Regions from separate parts of the Homo sapiens genome. Here all the other regions are linked to region 1. The links are contacts of gene promoters, found by promoter capture Hi-C in blood cells and fetal thymus (Javierre and others, 2016). All regions are on one chromosome and are shown on one strand. The core of a region is centred on a gene start or on the middle of the fragment in contact, and the rest is flanking DNA. Distances in the headings are between cores, read along the strand shown.

The links. Contacts are between HindIII fragments. The CHiCAGO score rates a contact against its expected background, and 5 or more counts as called.
Region 2: a contact is called between a fragment that was not itself captured here and the fragment with the promoter of ARL6 in region 1, in 1 of 17 cell types (total B cells). The highest score is 7.8, in total B cells.
Region 3: a contact is called between a fragment that was not itself captured here and the fragment with the promoter of ARL6 in region 1, in 2 of 17 cell types (total B cells and naive B cells). The highest score is 9.6, in total B cells.
Region 4: a fragment that was not itself captured here is called in contact with the fragment with the promoter of ARL6 in region 1 in 1 of 17 cell types (endothelial precursors); the score reaches 6.0 in endothelial precursors.

The regions. Positions count from the first base shown.
Region 1 is chr3:97,763,204-97,766,700 of GRCh38, forward strand. ARL6 (ARF like GTPase 6) reads left to right here and starts at 1,555. Exons shown (of 8, transcript NM_001278293.3): 1 at 1,555-1,774. RefSeq lists enhancers at 886-1,387, 1,023-1,562, 1,388-1,887, 1,603-1,712. The HindIII fragment of the contact is 6,880 bases long and covers 1-3,497 here.
Region 2 is chr3:94,048,730-94,052,226 of GRCh38, forward strand. ARL13B (ARF like GTPase 13B) reads left to right here. Exons shown (of 10, transcript NM_001174150.2): 8 at 677-793; 9 at 2,095-2,163. Among named protein-coding and RNA genes, the nearest start is that of DHFR2, 12 kb to the right of the region's middle. The HindIII fragment of the contact is 629 bases long and covers 1,633-2,261 here.
Region 3 is chr3:94,069,466-94,072,962 of GRCh38, forward strand. The region is part of intron 2 of NSUN3 (NOP2/Sun RNA methyltransferase 3); the gene reads left to right. Among named protein-coding and RNA genes, the nearest start is that of NSUN3, 8.2 kb to the left of the region's middle. The HindIII fragment of the contact is 1,800 bases long and covers 603-2,402 here.
Region 4 is chr3:94,261,952-94,265,448 of GRCh38, forward strand. No RefSeq gene overlaps it. Among named protein-coding and RNA genes, the nearest start is that of NSUN3, 200 kb to the left of the region's middle. The HindIII fragment of the contact is 783 bases long and covers 1,286-2,068 here.

The sequences.
Region 1 (3,497 bases), core at 305-2,804:
TTTGGGTCAATTTTGTTTACACAATAAAAAGCTCAAGACAAAAGAAGACAGGACATTATTTATTGAACAATAAATATGTGCCAAACATCTGTATTTCTGTTATCTTTAATACTCAGAACTACCAGATAAGATAAATACTATATTTTTGAAGGTGAGGATAGAAGCACGGAGAAGGGTAAATTGGGCTAAGACCACACAGTAAGAAAGAATGTATTTCCATACTCCATTTTTACAAGGACATTTATATGTTGATATGCATCCATAGGGTCTTTGTTTTGTTTTTGTCTTTCAACAAGAATCACTAATCCAGAGCCGCTTTTGTTTTTTCGCTGTAAAAATGACAATTACATTTGGAAATTTGGAGAAGTGACAAAAGATAAATCACCCCATAATCACACGCTTACAACCGTCCCCCCTACCATATTACTTTGAAATAATTCCTTCTAGTCTCTTTTTGCACCCTCCTAGTCCATTTAATAGGCCAAATGAATTGACAGGCCAAAGAACAGGCAGTGCAGTAAACATACACTAGCTAGTTGAAAAGGGTCGCGCGGTGGGGGGCAGGGGGTCGGAAATCCTACACCCATGCAAACAAAAAAAATGAAGAGATACAAACCCCTATTTGAAGAATGAGGCCATTCGCTGGGGGTGAGGTTAGTGGAGTTGGGCAGATTGAAAGGCTAGATCTTTAAAATGACTGCATCTGTAATGTGTCCGTTGGAAAACGCAGTAATAAAAGATGTGGGGAAGGGTATGCCTAAATATTTTCTATTTGAAGACCATTTGTGACTATGACTATAAAATCCAAGTGCAATTTAAGAAGGTGGTCAACTTTAAGTATTGACTATTAATACCTTTCCTGACCACCTGCCGATTTGATTCTGGAGACTGTAATCTACTCACAGGAGATTATGCCTGGTAGAAATCTCTTCGGGAGACCACACAACTAAGAAGCAGGGGTACAGGCATACTTTATTAGCCGAATAACACCTTTTGACTTTTTACACCAGTTCTCCCCTCTACCTTCCTGTATTAACAGTTTTACCTCTACAGGGACTCAGGGTGGGAGGCCTATCAGAACCCAGAGAAGAGTCGGTGCGATGGGCAACTGGGGAACTCCGGCGCACATCTTGCCCCAGGGGGGACAGTATCGTCTTGCAGTCGTTGCCACAACGCTACGCTGGTGCCCGGTAACGACACTCTCCGCGCCACACCCAGCGCCAGCCTCTTGGATCCCCAGGAAGACCAGGGCCGAGCGACAAACACGCAGCACACGCGAACGCCAAACGCTTCCCAGAAAGCTGTGCGCGAGCCTACAACTCCCATGATGCTACGCCGGGAACTGCCCGGCTCCTCGCAGGAAATAGGCAGCTCACCCTGCCACCTGTGCACACATTTTTCTTCAATGTATAGTTCCTCGGCGCGCCTCTGACCTTTTCCCGGAGCTCTTCAATCCCAGAAGCTATAGCACAACGGCTGAATCGCCAGGACCCCCGGGGAGGCGTGGCTTCAGGACCGGAAGAAGCTCCTGTTGCCAAGGGAACGGTGCCTGCCAAGGCGCCTGCTCAGCGACTGATGCACAGACTGCTGCAGAGGCTGCCGGTTTTCCCAACTTCTAGAGACGGCTTTGCTCATTACCAGGCATCCTTCCCATGTAGGCATCGAGAAGAAGGCTGAGGGACCCTCGCACCAGATTTCCATCCCGGAGACCGATACGAGTGCGTCCATTCCTGTTGCCAGCTCCTGCGCCCTCCGGACTAACCTCAAAAACCAGGTATCTCCTCAACGCCGGTTTTTAAAGCCAGCGCCACCCTCTGTCCCCGTCAGTTTTAGAATTCCTCTTTGGTCTTTCCCATGTTTTTCACTCCACGCGTGTAGTTGTTGCTAATGTATGAGAAGTAGAAAAGAAGGTGAGTTATAGAGGCCCTAGAAAACTTACTAAACTGGTTTGGACGTATGTTTGGTTGATGGGTTTTAACAATGCTCAACTTAGACCCGTGTATTGGGGGTGTGTGTGTGTGTGTGTGTGTGTGTGTGTGTGTGTGTGTAAGTGTAATTTAAATTATATCATAAAAAACTGAAAGCCGAATAAGAATGTTTATTTGGGGTAATAAAAGTAGGCAACATTTCAATCAACAAACACTTTACAGAGTTTACTAAGTATCATTCGTGGTGTTTTCTCTGGGCTACCACTCTGTCTCTGCAGCTTACCCTCTAAGCTGTTAACTGTGGATAACATCCTAATTCTTCTGGACTTCTCTGGCAATATGTAATCCTTTAGGAAACAGTCTGTCAGACAATAACCAAGAGAATTTGGCTGGTGTGCAAAGAGAGGGTTACAGTAAGATAAGAAACAAGAAAGGAAGATTGGAGCCAGATTGTGGACAACCTTAAAAGCTGTGCTTGGAAGTTTGAAACTACTGGCTTTATTCTGAAAGCCAGTAGTTCTCAATAGTAACTTCACATCAGAAACACTGGGTAGCTTTTAAAACTACAGATGCCCTGATCTTATTTTCAAAAATTCGGATTCAGCAATTGATTTCAGAGTGCAGCCAGGGTTGAGAATCATGGCTATCAGAGTAGGAAGCTGCAGAAAACAGTTGTGTCTCTCGCTGCACACTTAAGACACGATTAACAAATATTGACTGGCTTCAATTATCTTTTATTTATGCATGCAGAAAGTCAACTTATGGAAGGAAAATTATAACTACTTGAAACGTAGAAGTTTAAAGGCTCTATGATAGTTGTTTATAAAGCAATTTCAATAAATGTGATTACCTCTTTTAGAAAAACTGCCTGCTCTTCTAAATTGTGTGTCCCAAAATATTTCATTAACAAGTATCAAGTGATAATCCATGGAAAAGTGATGGAAAGTCACAATACAAGGTACTGTGAAAAACGAATATTCAAGCATCAGGCTTTAAACACTCAGTGCTTTATAGTAGATGCTTAAAGGGGGGAAAATGTGAGAAGTTGTCGTTTTTAAAACATAAGTTCTAAATTATGAAATGGAGAACAAGATATAAGCATTTATATCAATATGTTTATGCAGTAAATAAAGTGAGTAATAGCAAATTTACTTTGAAATCAAATGGTATGTGTGAATTGCTTCATGACATCAGAAGGTTAATTTAAAATAGATTTTACAAATGCTGGTCCTTAAGCTGTAATTTAAAGAAATGGACTGAATAAGATTTGAATCTCTGATACAAGGAGAAAAGCAGATTGAAGTGGCACAAATGGAAGTACCTGAGGTCAAACTCATCCTTGGGGAAAGACAAACGTGGTTCTGTAATAGGCCTCACCTTTTGGCATGGCACTGTTCCATCTCTTCTCTGCACATCACTGAAATTTAGTTTTGAAATTTCTACCCATAATCATATCCCAAAAGGCCTAAGCAAAATGTTGACTATGCAACCTCCTTTTAGATACAGTTGTCTTGGAAGCCTGTTATTGATAAAGTTGCTGCAGCCTCACATCCTTCAAGGTATGGCCTT
Region 2 (3,497 bases), core at 697-3,196, 3.7 Mb before region 1:
TACAGGCACATGAAAACAAAGCCATGCTGGGGTTTTTTTTTTCCCCCATAGAGATGAGGTCTCCTTATGTTGCCCAGACCATTCTCTTAACTCCTGGGCTCATGCATTCCTCCTACTTCAGCCTCCCAGAGTGCTGAGATTACAGGTGTGAGCTGCCATGCATAGCCTTGTAGGGGTTATTTTAAATAAGTAACATGTTTAGATTTGTTTAGGGCCTTTTATGTCACATTTCAAAGGATTATATTTGGGCTATTTATACCTGGAATCATTCTACATATCCCACTGAGAAAAATCAAATATACTGAGTGACACAATAATGAATAGCTTCTTTTCCCAGATTATTATGAAGTTCATGGAAACTCTTGCAATTAGACAATTATATTTGTGTCATATGACATTTTTTTGTATTCTGAAAAACCTCTCAGAAATTAAAATATAGAATTTTGGCTCTTTTTATCATATTCATTGCTCATTCATTCATTCAATAAGCCATCACTTAAAAAATATATTCTTAGTAAATGCAAGTACACATTTGGTTATTGTAACAATTTCCAAAGTTAAATAGTCAAGATGTTTTTTGTTAATAATATCAGTATTCTTGTTGTATTCTTTGTTTTCTATTATAAAAGTGCACTTTTTCATAAAGACATGAAGTTTCATGTTTATATTCTTGTAGCTAATGGTAAAAAGAAAACTAAGAAACTAAGAATGAAAAGGAACCACCGGGTAGAACCACTTAATATAGATGACTGTGCTCCTGAGAGTCCAACGCCACCCCCACCCCCTCCTCCTGGTGAGTAAATTGATACTGATACTGAATTTAGAAATATTGCTTTAAACAACAGAGAAAAAAAAAAAGAAAAAAGGAATCTTGTCATTTTTATTCTGTATATTCATTATCTTGTATACTTGTGAAGAAGAATCTTTTACTCTGATTTGGACAAAATTTGCTAACACAAATGTCCATTGCTTTTTTGAATAAAAAAATGTTTTATAAAGAAAAAAATAAGTAAAAACTATTAAGAAAATTTTACCCAGTATTTCCTAGAATATGTTCAAGTTCTATTTGAAATATCAGTACCCACATGTTAATTTAAGTTTCACGATGGATGGCTAACATGAGTTTTTAAAACATTGAACCGGCTCGGCATGGTGGCTGACACCTGTAATCCCAGCACTTTGTGAGGCCGAGGCGGGCAGATAACCAGGTGAAGAGTTCGAGATCAACCTGGCCAACTTGGTGAAACCCCGTCTCTACTAAAGATACAAAAAAAAAAAAAAAAAATTAGCTGGGCGTAGTAGCACATGCCTGTAATCCCAGCTACTCAGGAGGCTGGGGCAGGAGAATCGCTTGAACCTGGGATGGAGAAGTTGCAGTGAGCCAAGATCACTCCATTGCACTCCAGCCTGGGTGACAGGGTGAGACTCCATCTCGGGAAAAAAAAAAAAAAAAAAAAATTGGACCTTTCATCCTGAAAGTTAATGTTTGAAACCAAGATGTATTAATTTTTTCTAATACATTTTCAATATACATACCCATGTCCTAAGTTGTTACGAGGATTAAATGGAGTAATGCATATAAAACACTGGGACTTAACTTGCACAATAATTTTGAGTAACTTTTCAGCACTAAGCTTAGCACCTCACCTACTATAGGTGGTCAGTAAATATGTAATGACTAGATAAATATGTGTATAGTGCCCTTATAGCCCTGCTACAAGGCTTTAGAAATTATTTGGTAACATTTTAAGAATCTCTTATAGACTCATTTCCAGTATTCCATTTATTAAGAAAATATTTAGTTTCTGCCTAGAGTTAGAATGATAGCATGAGTTTGTTTTTGATAGTGGTGAAGGTGCTTATAGTTTTTATTAAAAGCTACTGAAAAGTTAAAGCAGATGTTAGCAGCCTATAATTACATTTTAAAATATAGAAGCCATTTAAAATGGGTTTCTGGCTTTCCATACTGTCATTCAATATATTTGAATTGACATTGAATGTTACATATGCTTCCTTTCCAGGGAGGGATCCTCTCAACAGACCTAAAGAAACCTTGTTTAACAGTGTTTTTTAAATGTTTTTCTTTTTCTTTAGTTGGCTGGGGAACCCCTAAAGTCACTAGACTTCCAAAACTTGAGCCTCTTGGTGAAACACATCATAATGGTAATGCAAAAGGATTGGTTTTCAGATATCATCTGTACATGTCACATTCACTTTTCTTTAGCCTTATAATTTCAACAAACTTATGTTTTAGTTTTAGAAGCTTGTCAAATCCACAGCTATCCTTTTTCATTATACGTCTTTTTTCATTTTATTTAATTTTTTATTCTTAAGTATGCTTTACATCTATATCATTTAATTTGGTGTTTACCTTAGAATACAGAGGTAAAAAGAATCATAGCTTGTGTTTATTATCCATGATATATTTATACAAGGAGTTATAATAAAAAGGAAATGTTTTAAAATAATTTAACTATGAGACATTAGAATTTATAACTTAAGTGTTAAAAGCTGTAGTTTCCTGTATATGCTCAATATACTCAATGATAATGGCACATAATTTTTTCTCTCTACTCCTAATAAGACAACCAGCTGCTGAACATTAAAGTGAAGTAAAGATCAACACAGTTTATAAAATCAGAGATCAAATCAGTAAACCTAATAAAGTTCGACTAAGTAGAAAGTTACTAACATTTTTATTGAATTAAGAGAACAGTTTTCTTTGAATATAACATACGCTATAGTCTAGATAGTTTATGGCATTAGAATTCTAGGATGCAAAAACTAGAGGAAGGATATTTAGGAGAAGTAGAGAACTGCCTTATAAAACAAGGAGAAGTTCTGATTACAGACCATCAGTCTAGGTCCCTTCAGTAAAATATTTCTAGAATGCAAAAGAATTATAGATAAATGTAGTTCAATAAACTTGTTTGTTAAGAACATCCAATTCCTTTTTGGACAGCTCTGTGTTTACCTAGTCTAGAACTTGGTTTCACTTACTAGGAAAAAACTCAGAAGTTTACTCTTTAGAAAAGCATTACCATATAATTTGAAATTATATCAAACCAGTTTAAATATTTTTGTTTAAAAGGTACTTAAATATAAATGTGCTATTTGCTTTTTTCCCCCAGAATTCTATTTAGGTCAGTATTGAAATATTTCTTGATAATCGTTAGTGAAAATTCATGAATTTTTTTTTTTTTAAAGACAGAAAAGTTTGTCCTTAGACTCCATCAGAATTACTGAAGTGGTATTTTCAGTGAAATCTCATCTCTCTGTTTAGTTTACTGACTTGACATCGTGATGTTTATATTGACTACAGTAGATTTATTTCTTTATTACACAACTCTTAGTGAACTTGTGTACGTTAGAATACATTGTCAATATAAATATTCACTATGTTGTTAGAAAACTAATGTTACTGTGTATATTTATATGTACACACATACATATGAAGAAAAAATACCAATTTTTCATATGACATATTTTTTCTGTTG
Region 3 (3,497 bases), core at 253-2,752, 3.7 Mb before region 1:
GCTATGGAAATTTAAATAGGTTCTGTAATCTACAGGGTTATATTAATTGTGTTTAACAATTTCTAGATTAAATGATATTTTTCATCTTCGTCACTAGGACGGAAGGTAGGGTGGAGAGTAGAGTAGTAGGAAAAAAGAATAAAGTCACAGAAAAGTTGAATGAAAATTATACTATCAAATAATAAACATTATCGAAATGATACATTATACAGTTTTGCAAAATTTTAACTTAACTAGCTTTTAATTTTTTAATGCTTTAATTTTGTTAAAATAGTAAGTAGTTCAGAGAGCCTTGAATCAGAACTCCAATTTTATTCATTTACTCCAGGATTTAGGCCCCAGGCACTTAGCCAAGGAGAAAAATAAGTCAAGGCTCCCATATAAATGAGTTAGGGAAATGGGTAAGCAGGCAGGGTGACACACAGTGTGATATATTAGTTTAGCTTCATTAACTGTTTCTCAAAATTCAGTTATTCTTGTGTACCATCTGTCTAGTTTTACTTAATTTTTTTTTGGTCAGTTTTAATATTTTTCTTTTGTTTCTTAGGAATTTTTCTTTTGTTTCTTAGGAATTTATTTTTCTTTTGTTTCTTAGGAATTTAAGCTTATTTTATATCATTATCAGTAAATAGATGTGCCTAGCCTATAGTTGACAGACGGTGTATTTTTAGAGAATGAATGAATGTTGACAAGAAGATAATATACGATGGCTCACACCTGTAATTCCAGCACTTTGGGAGGCCAAGGCAGGAGATTTGCTTGAGGGCGGGAAGATTGCTTGAGGACAAGAGTTCAAGACCAGCATGGGCAATATAGCAAGACCTCATCTCTAGAAAAAATAAGCAATTAGCTGGGTGTGGTGGTGCGTGCCTGTAGGCGCAACTACTTGGGAGACTGAGGTAGGAGGATCGCTTGAGTCCAGGAGGTCGAGGCTTCACTGAGCCATGATCGCACAGCTGTACGCCAGCCTGGGTGACAGAGTGAGACCTTGTCTCTAAAAAAAAGAAGACAAAACAGACTTAGCATGTTGGAGGGAGGAGCAACAATGAGTGAGAAATAGAAAGACTTTTCAAGGGGGTATGTAGGCTCAGGCAAGTGACCGCAGTCAGTTTTCACATCCTCAACTTTCATGTATTCTCTTTCAGAAAATTACTCTGCCCCTCTGTACATAAGGGGGCACATATTCTCCTTTCCCAACCTGCCTTTCTCCAATTTCCCTTCACCCTTTTCACAAAAAGAAAGGCACACTTGCACCATTCTGGCTTCTATGCTATGTTCCTCCAGGTATTCAAAACCTCCATATGCCAGAAACTATTGGAGTGTCAGTGTGAGAAAGCAAATGACTAACAGATTCTCTGACAAGTCAGGTGGTTTCCAAGTTTTGCTTTCAACAAAAGTAAAGGAGCCTTGATTGAGATGTCAGCTATCAATTCATTTAAGACATTTTTGATGATAGGTTGCTAAGTGATTTGGGGATATAACTCCAAAAGAATTCAAAGTAAGAAACATTGCTATAACAAAATATATTTAATTCTCATCCACTTATTTAACTGAAGGTTTTTCTCAGCTTTTATAAAAAACACAAAATAGGCATAAAAATGATGTTGAATCCTGACTGATTTTATTATAGTAAGAAGTAATATTCATTTATGGATATATGGAAACAAAAGCTCATTTCATTAAGTATCCATTTCTTACCAATTTTTACTTTTATAAGTTGTTTTGATCGGTTTTGTACTAATAATATTATTGATCCCTGAATCCAGAAGTTACCATTTTAACACTTAGAGATTTAAGACCACAGGAAAAACAAATTTAGTACATACACATGTGTATATGTGGGGGCTAGAGAAGCATGATAGGGTGATAAAAAGATTTCAAGCATGAAAATATATTAAGATGAAGTTATATGAAGTAGAATGTAAATAAAAGAGGAAAACGAGCAGCATAAAATTTCCACCTGTTAAAGATGAGTCAGTCTATGAATTTTTAAATGGATGATGATGGGTATCAAAATCATTATGATATTTAGTTTCCACTGGGCACATACTAAAGGCAGTATAATTTGTATTTTAAAATGTCAATTTTTACAGTATGCTGGAAATTGCATCCTTTAAACATATGGTGAGATTTTAATGTCAACTTAAAATGTGTTTTTTTTCAAAATGATATCAGTGGTGCACTAGCAAATTTGCAGGTCACTGACCTTGTATGTCTCCAGTTCTGCTGGCTACTGAGGTACTTGCACTTCTTCTCACCTGGAAGACCAGTAAATGGAGCCGCTTCAGACTAACTGTGAATCTTGGGAAAAGGCCTGGAGTGTGGCACCTGGCCGCTGTTTTCTAGAGTCATCTAACATACATTCCCTCTACTGCCTGCTAAGCTACTTGCCCATCCATAAAAGCTTTGGATTCGGAAGCCACTTTCCCTCCAGCCCCAGGTTAGCAACCCACCCAGTGCAGGCACAGGAGGGGTTGTATGTGTGTGTGTTGTGGGGAGGAGAATGGAGGTCAGTGGCAGGTGTGTGCAAGGGGAACTGTAAGAATCATATTAATACACAGCTTTGCTTTCTCAGGGCTAGGAAGCACCAGCCTGAGCAGCCTTAGCAGTCCCTTCAAGAGTTGGTCTGTTGCAGCTGCTTCTATAGGCAGGATGTGGCAAGCTGATTTCATTGTTAGACAGAAGAGGGTTTCAGGGAGGTCATGGCCACTTGCACTAAGTGAGGGTTGGGGTAAAATTCTCTTTCTTGCCCCCTTTTGTAGCTCTGTGCTGTAGTACCAGGGTCTCACACGTTGGGAATCACTTCTGTTAGACTTTAAAGTCAGTCTGATTTTGAATCAGATACTTCTGCGTACTAGCAATGTGACCTCAGGTAAGTTGCCAAAATCTCTAAAAGCCTCAGTTAACCTCTAAAATAGGAGTAAGAGCTGCCTCTCTCAAGGTTGTTGTGATGGTTCTATGATATAAACATGCAAAATGAACATTGTACACATCCAGTCAGTAACATTTATTAATAATGATATCAGAGTATGGTGGAGGATGTGAACCGGGTGGTAAGTGGAAAGACTTCGTTGGAGAGAGAAAACTCCCTAAGTTGAGAACAGATAGGTGAGAGAGGAAAGGTTATTCAGGGAGGTTGGGGGCCGGGCATGTGGAGATCAGTAAATTTTAAAGAAACTTGTTAGAAGAAATCTGTATAGTTCAGTAGGGTTGGGTGTAGATCATGAAAGATCAAAAATTTCGTTTGTTCTATTTAGGCCTTATTTTGTCTAGTCACTAAAGAATGAGATAGAGTAATTTCTGAAGAGTTCTGCCTCAGTCTGCAATAAGTTCTTCTCTTTTTTTTTTATTATTATACTTTAAGTTCTGAGGTACATGTGCAGAATGTGCAGTTTTCTTACATAGGTATACCCATGCCATGGTGGTTTGCTGCACCCATCAACCCATCACCTACATTAGGTATTTCTCCTAATGCTATCTGTCCCCCAGCCCCTCAC
Region 4 (3,497 bases), core at 427-2,926, 3.5 Mb before region 1:
TAAATGTTGATGTAATGGCTGGATAAGATAGAAAAGAAAAACAGTTTTTTTTTCGCCAATGCCATCATCTGCCTATTGAAGTTTTTCTTGTCAGACCTTCAGCAAATGATTAAATTAATTTGAATCAGATTGAATTAGGCTAGAAATAGCCCAATATCTGAAACAATTTCACCAGGAATAATCAGTATAAGAGTCATTAGAAAGCAGCAGTTGTTAATAATGCCCCCATTTTTTTTTTCTTTTACGATAATGACAGGGACTCACGATGTTGCCCAGGCTGAGCTCAAAATCCTGGCCATATGTGATCCTCCCACCTTGGCCTCCCAAAGTGCTGTGATTATATGTGTGAGCCACCACACTTGGCCTGACCACACTTTTTTTTTTTTTTAAAAACAGCAAAGCCCTTTTCTTTCTGAGCAGTGATTTTGAAAATTACTAAAATTCTTATGTAAAAAATTTCTAAAACAAAAATTTCCATAAGAATATCATCAAAATATTATTCTTTGCACTGTATACCATTCCTCTATCAACTAGGTATCCAGTCATATATTTTGGATTTGAATTTATCTTATGGGAGCTGGATGGTACATATATTGGCAACACAATCTTCCAGATCTAGTTAACTTCTTAAATGCCGTTGGCTTCACAGTGCTTCAGTCAGGAAAAAAATGAATAATGTCATCCCCTGGGAATGTAAGGAAAGAGTCCTATTGAGGATATTGGTGGAGCTGTTCGGCTTCTTCAGAGGAAAGACTCTATACTCATTGTGGTGGCTGCTTTTCTCCAAGCTTGTGATTTGAGAGGTTGACCTAGCAACAATCTGAATAGCAAAGCATGTTTTTTCTTGGTGCCCATTTTCCTGCAAAAGCATATTTTTGATTGGACTGCAGTCGAAAGCATAATTAAATGTTACAGAGACTCTCAGAACTTTAAACCATTCTCTTTTTCCCTTTTAATTTGACAACACAAACAAGTCTAATGTTTCATTTTTCTGGCTCCAGATGTCCATTGTGAATGTAAATGATGAGCCAGTAGAGCTGATGCTTCCACAGAACTGATATTCAGAGTAAAAATGAATCGTTGCACATCCTGCAGGTGCCTCTGCTGAGGGAATCTTTTCACTCCGAAGACATTTAAGAGATAGAATATGCAGCTGGTCAAAGAAAGCCTTTAGGCTATTTCAAAGTTTCTATACAAAATAAAATGCCTCATAAAGTTTGCTTGAAAGTGAAATTTTATAAAATACGGTTATATACACTCCTTCATTTTTATTCCAATAATTCCAAGCTTTCTTTTTAAGGCTGAAAATACTATTTTTAAGAATCAAATAAACACCAATATTTGGAGTTCTGATAGAGAGAAGAACTTCACATTTGGCTTGCATTTGGCACTTAATTTGGAGGTTGTATTCAAGTTAACAACAACAACAGCAAAAATACAATGATTCTTCTATATTGTCAATAATTACTGCTCGCAGCTTGATTATTTTGCAATTATCAAGATATCGGATGCCACACATATGTGTCAAAGCCTTTCAAAGGACATCTAATGAGAACCATAGATGAAGATGGTATTGATGTCTGACTGGGGAGAGAGCTGTTCATGTACTTAGCCTTTGAACTACAACTCACCATCTAATTTTCTCAATCAAGGTCTGAGACTTGAAAGAATCTATGGAAGAATCTAGATCATCTACTGAAGTACTTATGACTTCAGAATTTAGAGTCAGAAAACATATCCTGAGCATGTTCCCTCTCCTGCTTCTCAGAAGCCCTGAACCATTAGACTGCATGAGTCTGCCCACTTTCTCCTGTGATGATTCAACTGGGTTCCTCTTCCCTCAAAGATCCCTGCATTCTAAAACAATTTTTCTGCCTTCCTAACACTCTGCTAAAAAAACCGATTCTTTTAGCACAGCTGACCACAGCAAGAAGAAAGCAAGCAGATGGAGTTAATTCATACTAAGATGAAAAAGTCTGCTAGCCTCCACAGGGTATTTGCCTCATAAAAAAGATTGCTTGAGAAGTTAAGTTTATCTCTAACTTGCAGAACCTAAGAAATGAAGTAAAGCTTCTCAACTGTGGGGAAGAAATGTGATCTCCTGTATTTTTTGGTCAGTATTTGGGTTATAAGACATGAGAAAAGAGATACACAAAGTCATCTCATGCTGACCAAAACAAAAACAAAACAAAACAAAAAACAATGTAGATTGAACTATGATTGAATGATTAATGCATCAAAGGAAAAAAGTATCAATCAGACATTGGTCATTCACTCTTGGCCATATTGAAAAGGGTATAGAGGCACACTTTGGAAAAGTCTATCTTAACATAGTTCAGAGAAGAGAGTCTTAGATTACAGTAAACTGGCAAGAAGATGCTATATGAAGACATCTATTTTACATTACATGTTTCATTCACTTAATTAATGTTCGGTTCTGTTTCTAAGTTTTTTAAGCAAACTTCTGGTTATTATTTCATTCTCAGTTAGTTCTGTCTACAGAGAAGTATGCTTGTCACATGGGCTTGAAGAATTTGAGACCCATACTAGCTATCTTTTAACTAGCTTTTTTTTTTTTTTCTTTTAACAGTCAGGGTAGGATCAGAGAAGCAGAACCACTAAGATTTTTTTATACAGATTGTACCTTATGCAATCATGGGAGATGGTTAATCAGCCTCTGCAAGGCTGTTGCCTTTGCATCTTTTCTGGAGCTTAAAGTCTGCAGGACTTTCAAGAAAAGAAGACAGATTTGGAGTGGGGAGAGAAAGGAAAACTGTAACCCATTGGCTCAAGCTGCAGTCCAAGAGGATGGATTGAAACCCTGGTCTCACTCTGCCTCCAACTTCAATGGTGCTGGTGGCCTGCAGGAGAAATTGATGCCCTTTGTCATAGAGCTTAACACACACATGGGCCAAGAAGACAGAGAACCTGAAGGACAACTGAGGGTAGGTTGGAGCAGCTGCAGGGCTAGGTGTTGCCCCATGTTAATCCAGTGTCAGCTGAGGTGTCAATGAGCATGGGTTGGTAGAGTGCCTGGTGCCCCTGTACCAGCCTGAGGATGAAAACAATATGGCCACTGCTTCAGTCTAACTTGCAAAACTTATGCAAAAGGGCTCTCCTGGACCACTGGGAAGTTAATTATGGGAAATGTAGTTCTAAGTTAGCTAAATTGCTATGGTTCAAATCCTTTGCATAAAAAACACATTGCTATCCAACGTGTTATCCAATTCTGGATTTACAAATTCCTTTTATAAACTTGCTAATAAGAATTTAGCCCTGAAAGATGGATTTACTCTTGATGTCCTGACAAAATAAGGGACGTGGCTGAGGGCCAGAGCCTGGAGAGAAGTTTATCCTACAAAGCTAATGAGTGACACCCTGTCTGTGTGCTCTCTTATCCCACAGCCTACTTCATCCCCTTGGCATTGCCCAAGCAATCTCTCATCATTCTTCTAGCATTGGCCTGGTAATACTCTCTTTCTTTTAGAATTTCAATA